Regions from separate parts of the Homo sapiens genome. Here region 1 is linked to region 2. Evidence: promoter capture Hi-C in human tissues and cell types (Jung and others, 2019). All regions are on one chromosome and are shown on one strand. The core of a region is centred on a gene start or on the middle of the fragment in contact, and the rest is flanking DNA. Distances in the headings are between cores, read along the strand shown.

The links. Contacts are between HindIII fragments. The study calls those that stand out against the background at their distance.
Region 1: a contact is called between a fragment that was not itself captured here and the fragment with the promoter of GPC5 in region 2, in 1 of the 25 tissues and cell types used here (lymphoblastoid cells).

What each region holds. Positions count from the first base shown.
Region 1 is chr13:91,350,559-91,356,857 of GRCh38, forward strand. MIR17HG (miR-17-92a-1 cluster host gene) reads left to right here. Exons shown (of 3, transcript NR_197388.1): 3 at 1-4,019. MIR17 (microRNA 17) reads left to right here and starts at 47; the gene lies at 47-130. It overlaps MIR18A (microRNA 18a), which reads left to right and starts at 193; the gene lies at 193-263. It overlaps MIR19A (microRNA 19a), which reads left to right and starts at 333; the gene lies at 333-414. It also overlaps MIR20A, MIR19B1 and MIR92A1. The HindIII fragment of the contact is 5,011 bases long and covers 1-3,756 here.
Region 2 is chr13:91,394,380-91,400,046 of GRCh38, forward strand. GPC5 (glypican 5) reads left to right here and starts at 4,242. Exons shown (of 8, transcript NM_004466.6): 1 at 4,242-4,830. The coding sequence starts at 4,668. LOC124903189 (a long non-coding RNA gene) reads left to right here and starts at 2,498. Exons shown (of 2, transcript XR_007063831.1): 1 at 2,498-2,782; 2 at 2,967-3,209. RefSeq lists silencers at 4,056-4,350, 4,057-4,326. The HindIII fragment of the contact is 16,121 bases long and covers 1,356-5,667 here.

The DNA.
Region 1 (6,299 bases), core at 1-2,500, 47 kb before region 2:
CAGGAAAAAAGAGAACATCACCTTGTAAAACTGAAGATTGTGACCAGTCAGAATAATGTCAAAGTGCTTACAGTGCAGGTAGTGATATGTGCATCTACTGCAGTGAAGGCACTTGTAGCATTATGGTGACAGCTGCCTCGGGAAGCCAAGTTGGGCTTTAAAGTGCAGGGCCTGCTGATGTTGAGTGCTTTTTGTTCTAAGGTGCATCTAGTGCAGATAGTGAAGTAGATTAGCATCTACTGCCCTAAGTGCTCCTTCTGGCATAAGAAGTTATGTATTCATCCAATAATTCAAGCCAAGCAAGTATATAGGTGTTTTAATAGTTTTTGTTTGCAGTCCTCTGTTAGTTTTGCATAGTTGCACTACAAGAAGAATGTAGTTGTGCAAATCTATGCAAAACTGATGGTGGCCTGCTATTTCCTTCAAATGAATGATTTTTACTAATTTTGTGTACTTTTATTGTGTCGATGTAGAATCTGCCTGGTCTATCTGATGTGACAGCTTCTGTAGCACTAAAGTGCTTATAGTGCAGGTAGTGTTTAGTTATCTACTGCATTATGAGCACTTAAAGTACTGCTAGCTGTAGAACTCCAGCTTCGGCCTGTCGCCCAATCAAACTGTCCTGTTACTGAACACTGTTCTATGGTTAGTTTTGCAGGTTTGCATCCAGCTGTGTGATATTCTGCTGTGCAAATCCATGCAAAACTGACTGTGGTAGTGAAAAGTCTGTAGAAAAGTAAGGGAAACTCAAACCCCTTTCTACACAGGTTGGGATCGGTTGCAATGCTGTGTTTCTGTATGGTATTGCACTTGTCCCGGCCTGTTGAGTTTGGTGGGGATTGTGACCAGAAGATTTTGAAAATTAAATATTACTGAAGATTTCGACTTCCACTGTTAAATGTACAAGATACATGAAATATTAAAGAAAATGTGTAACTTTTTGTGTAAATACATCTTGTCTTGTTTTCATTCAAAAACATTTCACTTTTGGGGTTGCGTGTCAGATTTGGCAGTATAAATTCTGGCTATATTTTTTGTTGTTAGATTTATTTGGCTGTTAAGTATTGCGATATGACTAAACATACTGTATACCTGATGATCATCTGTAAAGTTAGAGTATATCTTTTTGCTTTCTTTGGAGTTAGTGTTATTCCAGGATATTTTACTTAATCTAAAAGTTAATTTATGTTGCTCATATATTACTCAAGTATTTAAATTTAGAGAGAATGCCGCTCTGTTTAAAGCAATGTGTAAAGATGAGTTTTTTTAAGCATGGAATTTAGGGTTGGGGTACAATTTGTTTCTATTAAGCAAGTACCAGTTTACCAATACATGAGTAACTGAAGTGTAACTGTTAAATGCTTGTATACTAGTTTTTCTTTCTGATTGTCAGTGATTTATAAGCTATAAATGACCAAGGTCCTCAGACTGCTTTTAGCATCTGCAACTTAAAAAAATGGGAGTTAGAAAAAGAACAAATGCTAAATAGAGTAACAGTTAAATGTATGTGTACACTCTTCCCAAATGCCAAGAGTGCAGCGGTGGGGTGAGATTCAGATATTCATTTATTTCTAAGTCTGTAGTTAACATTTATGTTCCCTACTCCCTACGTAAGCCAGACTTTGGCAACAGTGATAGTTGATTCCAGGCTTATTTGACTTAAAGTCACTGAAGTGGAAACTAAGAAGTGGCAGTTAGTGTTTTACCCAGCATTTCTGCCTTCTCTCTTTTCTTCATGTGTTTTTGTCTCTAGCCTATGTGTATTTGTGTAGAATAATGTGGGATACCTGAATAATAGATTTAAAAGGACCAAGTGGTAAAATTGGGCCCAAGCTGAAGTACAGGCAAACTTGATGTTTGAAAGATAAGTTTTGAGAAATGTCATTGTATTTTGGAGTAAAAGAGGCTATCTTAGTAATAAGAAATAAACTTCCATAACACTAGGTTAGACCACCCAATAAATCTAGAAATCAGCTTTTAAAAATATTGTCTGAAGTCTAACAAAAGTTTTCACCTCTAATGTGTTCTTTAAGAAATTTAAGGAACTTAGCCTTGGATTCCTGAATAGAAAGGTAAGAATTCTATCATTCTGGAGTTGATGAAAACATAAATTTTCAGGATGTGAAATGAACAGTGATTTATAAAATGGAAATCAAATTGTACATTAGCAGAGTTCTTAAGCTTTTTGAATTGAAGGAGACCTAATAATTGTGTCTTTTTGGTTATTTAGTGACAAACGTGGCTTTCAAACTATGCTTAAAAAGTTCCGGCTGGACACGGTGGCTCACACCTATAATCCTAGCACTTGGGGAGGCTGAGGCAGACGGATTACCTGAGGTCAGGAGTTCGAGACCAACCTGGCCGACATGGTGAAACGCTGTCTCTACTAAAAATATAAAAAATTAGCCGGGTGCAGTGGCGTGCACCTGTAATCCCAGCTACTCTGGAGGCTGAGGCAGGAGAATCACCTGAACCTGGGAGGTGGAGGTTTCAGTGAGCTGAGATCCTGCCACTGCACTCCAGCCTGGGCGCAAGACCAAGACTTAAACGCAAAAAAAAAAAAAAAAAAAAAAAAAAAGTTTCATAATACAGCATGGTCTGGTAGTTTGCAAAATGGTGTGCTTTTGGGGAGATACACTAGCAATTTTTTTAAAAACTGGAACAGTGTGATAGGAAGCCTGCTGGATGATTTCTTAAATATTCTAAAATGTAAGTCAAATATGTTTTAATAACAAAGACTTAAATGGCTTTTCTCCCTAGAGACTGAAACTAGTATTCATTGTGTTCAGAACTTAATTGGGCTTGAACTGAGATTTAAATCTAATAAACAAGTTAATAAATGTGTATGTTTTGTTGTGGGTTTGGTAGTGATCTGTGGTTCTATAGGGTTTAATAGGAATTGCTTTTGATTTGTTTCTGGCTTTAGAATGTGAGGCAAATTTTACATTCTTGGTTCTATTAAGATTTTCTTAGGCATGCTAACATGCCAACAAAAAGCCATGTAAGTATTGTATAAAAAGATTCACATTGTTAATTTAGCCATTTTGAAATTCAGATGAGTGAGCAAGTTGATAATGGCCTCATCTCTGACCTGAGAAAAAACAACTTTGACCCTTGTTCTTAAAATGCTTTAACCTTGAAGTTGCTTGAGACTTAAGAGGTCATGTTGCTTTAGGTTTAATAAATAGCCTTAACTATTTGGAGGGGAAAAAATGGGTCAACTTTTTTTTTTTTTTTTGGCGTTTGCATGTACAACTTTCTATTTTTAGCCTATATTTGGAAAGAAAGCACTTAACATTTTAGGAATTCTTTTTAAAGCTGCTTGCAAAGTGTTGGTGATTTTACTGAAAACTTTTGAGATCTTCATTTTACAGGCAGACCTGTCTAACTACAAGCCAGACTTGGGTTTTCTCCTGTAGTTTGAAGACACACTGACTCCTGACAAAATGCAGCCTGCAACTTCCTGGAGAACAACTCAGTGTCACATTAAAGTTTATTATGTATTTAATGATACACTGTTTAATTGACAGTTTTGCATAGTTTGTCTAACTTTAGAGAATTAAGAGCCTCTCAACTGAGCAGTAAAGGTAAGGAGAGCTCAATCTGCACAGAGCCAGTTTTTAGTGTTTGATGGAAATAAGATCATCATGCCCACTTGAGACTTCAGATTATTCTTTAGCTTAGTGGTTGTATGAGTTACATCTTATTAAAGTCGAAATTAATGTAGTTTTCTGCCTTGATAACATTTCATATGTGGTATTAGTTTTAAAGGGTCATTAGGAAAATGCACATATTCCATGAATTTTAAGACCCATAGAAAAGTTGAAGAATGCTTAATTTTCTTATCCAGTAATGTAAACACAGAGACAGAACATTGAGATGTGCCTAGTTCTGTATTTACAGTTTGGTCTGGCTGTTTGAGTTCTAGCGCATTTAATGTTAATAAATAAAATACTGCATTTTAAAGCTGTTAAGAAATTGTCCAGAACGAGAATATTGAAATAAAAACTTCAAGGTTATTATCGCAGTTTTTATGGCGTTTTTGTTTTGTCACTACAGATGGTCTAAAGGTTACTTATTAATTAATTGGGGAAGTGGAGACAAGGACCAAAGTTTATCTGGATTTTCTTATTTAATCTTCATTACCTGTGAAATATGTATTTGTATTCTTACTTTACATATGAGATCAGAAGTTCATTTTCAAGCAGAATGGAAAGGTGGTAAATGGACTCTGAATTAAAATATGTCAGTATTTTAAAAGGTTATCTTCTGCCTAGTATTTTTATGGAATCTGACAAGTTCTCAGATCACACTTGTTTCCTTAAATCTTGGTAAGTCTGAAGCATTCTTCATTTTGTTTATATTATACACGTTAGTAAGGTGGGAGTTCTTTTGTTTTTTGTGTTTTTTGGCCAGTTGATAACATGAAAGTTTAAGAGAGGAGGCCAAAGTATATAAAAAGTCTTAAACTCCTGCTTCTAATAAATGTCCAATATGTGTTGGCTCCTGGGTTGAGTGTTTATTAATGGGTCTGTACTAACTCTAAAACATTAAATAAGAATGGTATGTTCTGACCAGCCCTCAAAGTTCAGCCATTTCTAAAAGTTCAAAAAATCATTGTAAATATTTTTTAAATGAGGTACGAGATTGTACCTGTCTATGGCCAGTAACACAAGAAATCTAGGCTCATGCAGAGTTTTAGCATAGTTGACCCTCAGTATCAGTGGAGGGATTGGTAGGACCCTCAGTGCATACCAAATTCTTCAGGTGCTCAAGTCCCTTATGTAAAGTGGTGCAGTGTTTGCATGTAAATCTATACATGTCTTCTTGTATGCTTTAAGCTGTCTATATATTGCTTGAATAATCTGGTAAAATATCTTACATATTATTCATGTAGATTCAGTATAGTATTTGCGTGTGGCAAATTCAGGTTTGGCTTTTGGGGACTTCGTGAGATTTTTTTTCCTGAGTATTTTCAGTCTGTTTGTGGTTGGATGCAGGAACCACAGATACATAGGGCTAACTTAAGTAAGTGCCGACATAAATGCGTTAGTCATAGAGGTAAATAACAAAGACCTGAGTTTGGTAGTAAGTTCCCCGAAATGAAATGTTAGTATACTCCTAAGTGATTAGTAATTAGATCTCAGGTTGAATATACTAAATCCTTAATAACTGCATGTTTACTTTTAAGACCTAGATTTGTCAGTATATTAGTAGAGGTGAGCATGTACTAATTGTTCACACTTGTTTATAAAAGCATATATACTGTGAATTTTTAGTACGTTTAATGTTGACTTCAACTTACATAGACTGAAAAAGATTGAAAAAAAGCTTCGACGACATCAGTTCTGCACTTGTTGAGATGTACTGATCCAGATGGAATACCACACTGTTCAGCAGGTTGGGGTAACTAGATGAGACTAGTGAATGTTCCAAGAGTAGATGAAAATTGGGGTCCTGTAAGGTGGTGCTAGGAATTCTAAAGTGATTATGCATTTACCAAGAAAAGGTTCTTAACCAGTTGTCTTAAAATTATTAAGACGTAAAGACCTGGAATCTTAATCTAGCTGCACTATATTAGAGTCTTTGGGGCAGGATGCTGCGCAGACAAGTATTTTGAGAAATACCTGTTGATTTTGCTGTATATACTTAAGGATATATCTACTACCCTGAATTGTTGGAAATGCTGAGCCATAGGAATGCAGAAGAACATCAAAACACCTTAGAATTTATATGCAGGAAAGAGACCAGTAAACTATTTTTATGGTTCATGCAGTCATTACTCAGTTTTATAGCTGACTGACAAAATATGTGCCCCAACCCCACATTTATTTCTAAATCCACAGGCTTTTCCTTACTCTTCAATTTCAGTAACTTCCCTTTTTCTTCTCCAATGATACTTTGTTTTGGTAACAGCACCTAACAGGCCAGGTGTGTAGTTGTCTTTGTGCTATACCTGTATTTCCTTGGTTGGCTACTGTCACAGTGGCCACCATCATTCTGAACAAGTAAGGTGCACAAGGTACAAGCCATGTCTTTAGACATAGGTTATCGTCAGCATTTAGATTCTCCTCTAAGGCTTTCATCTAAAACTCCCTTGGTTTTGTGTTTAAAACTTAGTCCACAGTTTTCTAGTGTTACCCTCAGAATAATTGTCAAAATTGTACTTTCTAATACTCAAGATTGCATCTAAATTTCAAGTTAGAAAAGATGTTTATGCCATATTCTGAGTGTCTTGTGTTTATAACCTATGATTCTGCCCTTGACTGTACTTACGAATACTCCTTTTAAAATACGAA
Region 2 (5,667 bases), core at 2,992-5,491:
ACTCAATTTTCTCCTGGTTACTTGGTGGCAGAAATTCATTACTGGGGCAGCTCGGGCTGACATCCAACTTGGTTCTCTTTATTGTGCAACCAACGGCTTAGAGCCTACATCGGAGGGAGAGAGAAGGTAGGGCAAGACAAAAGTCAGCACTTTTTTGGAAATAATGAAGTGGAAGTTATTTGTATTAAGGATATTCTTTCTCTGACAACCTCCTTTTCACCCAGTTGATGAAAGAGGGATCCCCCTTTGTAAATTATACGAGATGATCAAACACACAAGACTGGACAGATGAGATTTACAGCAGTTTGTTAGTCACACATACTCATAGCCCAGGGGAGGAGGCTACCACATGCCATGCAGGGCCATACAGGGGAGGAGGGGCTTCATTTGGGAGCAGAGTGAACCTGCAGGAGTTGTGGGAGGCAAGCTTTGTAGTAACAAGAAGATGGTGTGTTGTGGGGAGGACCCCTTGGTTCCCACAGGAGGATGTGATTATCTTGTTGGACTAATTGCTCTGAAGGGAGGTGAAAGCCATTAGGTTGAAGACAGGGTGGGATGGAGCTGGTCCAGCTAAGGGAGGTAGCCAGCAAGCAAGACTTTCCATCTGGGTGGGGGGCATATCTGGCCAGAGCAGGAGAACTCATGACTAGGGACCTGTGAGGCTCAAAGATGTCAAGGCAGTTCGTGGGATTTTAGTGCTTGCAAAACAGTTCTCCTAGTTAAAAGCTTAGTGGAGGTAGGAAGTAGGAGCAGGTAGTACCTTGGCCAGCCCCACGTCAGTGAGGTACTATCAGGCCATCGTTGAAGCCAATGCAGAGCTCTGGACCACTATAACCAAGGTGTTCAGCAGGTTGTCCACATGGATAGCTGTGAGTACCAGAGTTTATATTTATATGATAGGTTGAGTTCAAGGGGCCACAAACCAGGTGTCTGGCTTTTCAGGCAGGCGAGTGTAGTGACTAAAGGGGTACAAAAGTTATGAAGCCTGGCTTGCATTTGGGCTCTTATCAGGATTTCTGGAAGGTTATTTAATCTCTTTGTACTTCAGTTTTCTCAGTAGTATAATAGTAACTGTCTCATGGAATGGTTGAAATGTTAAATGAGATAATATCTGTAAGTGCTTAATAAATCTTAGCTCTTGTCATTGACTGGGTATAAAAGTTACCCAAATCAGCTTCTGAGGGTAAACTAATTAGTGGCCAGTCTTAGCCTAAAAGAATAGTCAGGGTTGAAGACTCTGTGATATCATTAAATCACCTAAACCACACTGGAGGTTTTCTTTCTTTCTTTTTTTTTGTGAGATGGAGTCTCACTCTGTCCCCCAGGCTGGAGTCCTGTGGCACGATCTGGGCTCACTGCAATCTCTGCCTCCTGGGTTCAAGCGATTCTCCTGCCTCAGCCTCTTGAGTAGCTGGGATTACAGGCATGGGCCACCACACCCACCTAATTTTCATATTTTTAGTAGAGATGGAGTTTCACCATGTTGGCCAGATGCTCTCGATCTCCTGACCTCGTGATCCACCCGCCTCAGCCTCCCAAAGTGCTGGGATTACAGGCGTGAACCACCGCACCCGGCCGAGGTTTTTTATTTCTCTTTACAAGGTCCTAAGTTGACAAACTATAAACATATAAACAGTTACATAGAAAGTATCAGGGAAGTTTTGGATTTAGAATATTACTAAGCTGTATTTTAAATAATGACCATTTAAGGATTCTCCTATCCAAGGGTATTGGTATTTTGAAAGCAAAGCGCAATGCCTATTATATAAAAGACATTCAATACATTTTTTAAATACATTTTGTAAAATAAGGCATTATAACTATCAAATTATGGACAGTTTTCCCTAGCTTCATTTGTAATGTTTACCAGTAAATTGAATAAAAGGCTAGTTATGGTATAATTTGCAGAGGTTGCTCTAGAATGTTCTTATAAAAGGGATCGTGGCATTGTGTTCTGGGTGGAACTAGAAAACTTGTCTTGAAGCTTGGTAGCTTCAGTAGCAGGCATACTGTTGCCTTGCGTGGTGGGCTTAGGGATGCTAATAGGACAAGATGCCCTTCCAGGCCACATGCTGGCTCATCCACTTTGCTAGCAGTTATGGATAAGAGGTAGAAGGAAAATATATTTATTTTTTGTTAATGGGGATATTTTATACAGACTAAATATATTCTTGTTAGTTCCTATGGCATTTCTATAAATGACCTCCCACCTGTTTTGTTAACTTATAAAATCACTGAGAAAACTTGCTTGTGTGTCTCTTTAAACTCCTGTTAAGCCTAGAATAGCGGTTAAAAAAATTGTATGTTTTCAACCAATATGTATTAGTCAATTAGCTTTTACTGAACCATCAATACTCAGTTGTGTTTATGATTTTTATCCTTGCAAGACACACCGTTTTAGAGATTCCAGTTAATGGGATAGATGGTAATTTAAGGATCTTTTTGATGCTAAGAGTCTAAGATGATCAAATCTATCAAGGAGAGATCTTGGTAACAATAAAGATGTTTTAGAAAAACTTGGGAATTTATTAGCCTTATATAGAGATACACATAATTCCAGTAGAATACAGTTATATAGATAGAAATTATGCATATTTACTAGTAAAAAATCTGCTAAATGAATAAACAGCCCTTGGTGTTGCTGCCCAAAGGCCTTTGGTGAAACCTGATGGGTTTTTCTGTACCACAGAATAGTCAAGGAGAGCCTCTGGAGAAGAGCATGCGGTCTGGATTTGGAAGCCTCAGTTTGATTTCTGGCTTTGTCACTTACCTTAGGCATTCAGTAAGTCACTTCACCTCTGTGTTCCTGTTTCCTCATCTGTAAAACAATGATAATAGTAGTAACTACTTTATAAGGTTGTTATAAAGATTACATGAGTGAATTCATTTCCATAAAATACTTAGAATATTATCTGGCCCATAAGCACTATATACATTCTCATGGTTTTTCTTGTTTCTTTTCATAGATATAGGTGGCTTCCAGACAATCTTTCCATACTTGGTGGTTAGAGCAGAAGAGATTCATGAAGAGCACTGCCCTTTGAAACAAAATCTCATATTCAGAAAACTGATGCCAAACACCAAGTAGCATGATTTCACTCTGAAGCAGTGTTTCAGCCATTGCCCTGGAATGGTTTTAAAGCAAGTGATATACTGCTGAAAGTGCTGCCTTTGATATTAAATGTTCATTAAAAATCTTCACTAAGACATAAAGTTTTTCACTACTATCTCTTGGTAAGGGTTCAAATTTGAGATGAAATTCCTTAAAGTGGTTAAAGCATTCATTGTCCCCTCTGCCTGATGCTTTTAACTAGTTTATTTTACAGAAGGAGTACTCTCTTCAAGTGGCTGTAGATTGAGACACTCTTACAGGCTTAGTTGTTGAGTCAACCACATTTAAAAAATGCACCTGCCCTTTGGTTTATGGTGCGTAATGCATTCCTCTCATAAACTGTAAATTGACAAAATTCCTTTGCCATTTTAAAATTGCTTAAAGTATTTATTTTTCTATATTCCTTGTAAGGAACTCCCCTGAGCACTCTTAACTTAATTGCTCTCTGAAAAATATTTTAAAGAAATTCCAGAAGTGGTAAAGCTCAGAGGAGCCCCACAAATACAAAGTGCTGAAGTAAAATATGATGCTAAATGGTGATAAGAGACTTAAAACTAGATTTCATTGTGATAAGAATGTGATAAAGTTTGATTGTAATTCTTATACCTCCTTTCAGAAAATCATGTTATAGAAAAATGTTCCTAAGCAGTAAAACAAAGCCATTTTAAAAAATAACTTCTCATGTGCACTCTTTAACAACCTAAGTGTTATGAAGTCTCTCAATTGAGATCTTTAACCGTAAATAGTTTTTGCCTTTTGTATTATGTCCAGATCCTATTTAATGCAATTAGAATACAAATTCCTATGTACTGAGGACCTTGATTACATAGATGAGATATTTCTTAGTTCCAGTTGGTGTTTCTCATCTCTTGTCTTCTCTGACCCTATTTATACATTCTCTGTTTTTATCAGATGATTCTTCCCCAGAACGGACTGGGAGAGCGAGGTCCGGGTTTCCTTCTATTTATTTGCATCGATGTCGCTCCGAGTCTTCAGCACTGGGCCGCGTATGACAGCATCTTAGTGGGTGCGGAGCGGGACAGCGCGCCGGGGGCGTGGCAGGGGCGTGGCCTGTCCGCGGGGCGGGGAGTGCGGGGCGGGGCTTCCGCGGAGCGCAGCGAGCGGGCACATCCCAGGTTAGCTGCTGCGAGCCGAGCCGGGCGGCGGAGGCGGCGGCGGCGGCGGCAGTGGCGGCAGTGGCGGCAGTGGCGGCAGCGGCAGCAGTTGCAGCAGTGGTGGCCAGAGCGGATGCTTGCGGGCTCCCTGCGGCTCCACTAGTTTTCTTCGCCCCGCCCAGCCGCCCACTCTTCTCGGCTAGGGAAGAAGACCAGAGGGTGCTCAGCTGGAAAACTCTGGTGTCTCAGCTTAGGGCCTCCTCCGGGAAGAGCTAACTGCTCCCAGGTGAAGCCGGTGCCCGCGGGCGGTCCGTACACCCCGCAGCCGGCTCGCACCGCTCGAGAGCCTCGGCCGCTGTGTCTTCCACGTCTGCAGCTCAGCCAGGGCGCGCAGGGCGAGTGGGGTCCACTGGCGGGTAAAGGGGACCAGGACGGCGAGGATGGACGCACAGACCTGGCCCGTGGGCTTTCGCTGCCTCCTCCTTCTGGCCCTGGTTGGGTCCGCCCGCAGCGAGGGCGTGCAGACCTGCGAAGAAGTTCGGAAACTTTTCCAGTGGCGGCTGCTGGGAGCTGTCAGGGGGCTGCCGGATTCGCCGCGGGCAGGTAAGGGGCAATGAGGGGGTCTCTGGACTGGCGGCGTCCGAGCCCGGCCTTCGCTCCCCCAGGCTCCCTTGGTGGCACTCGTGGGAAGATGACCTTTCGGGCCCTGCAGCCGCGCAGGGTGAATCCCGGGGAGGCTTCCGGGGATGCTTGGTGCGGGTAGCCTGAGTGCAGCGCAGCGCAGCTCTGGGGACCCCTAACCAAGCCTGCGACGAATCCCCGTTCTGGGCATCTGCTTCCCGCCCGGCTCCCTTCGTCTTGGAGGATGAGTTGGAAGGAACCAGGAAAGCAGACATCAGGGCGTGGGGGACACGCAGTCTAACTCCGTTTCTCTTCCGAGTAGGAATTTCCCCAGTGCCCCACCGGGGATTTCGGTTTACTGCTTTCTCATAAGGTGGAGGGAATTGAATTGATCGCCCCAAGTTTGGTACTAAAAATCACAAACCTGCGATATACCCCTTTGCTGGAGAATGGGGCACAGACAAGGGCAGCCGGTCTCCTCTGTAATTAGGACTTGGACCCTGTGCACCCAGAGACGTGACCCTTAGCTGCCCTTCTGTGCCCTCGTATCAAGCCCTGCTTGGAGGAAACCCAACCACCCAGTGTGTCTCCCAGCACCAAGGTAGTTTTTAGCCTGAAAAGTGTTAGGGCAACAGGCGATCAAACCGAACGTACTGGGGAGTCACTTGACATGGATGAGATGTACCAGCGTTCCAAAGGGAAAGATACAGTTTGTGTGGCCAGCGTGGATCTTGCTTCCTGTGAGCGCCTTTTGCCTGTGCTTTCGAACCCTGCTCCCCGTTTCCACCGCACCAATTTCCTTCTGCTGGTGGGAGTTCC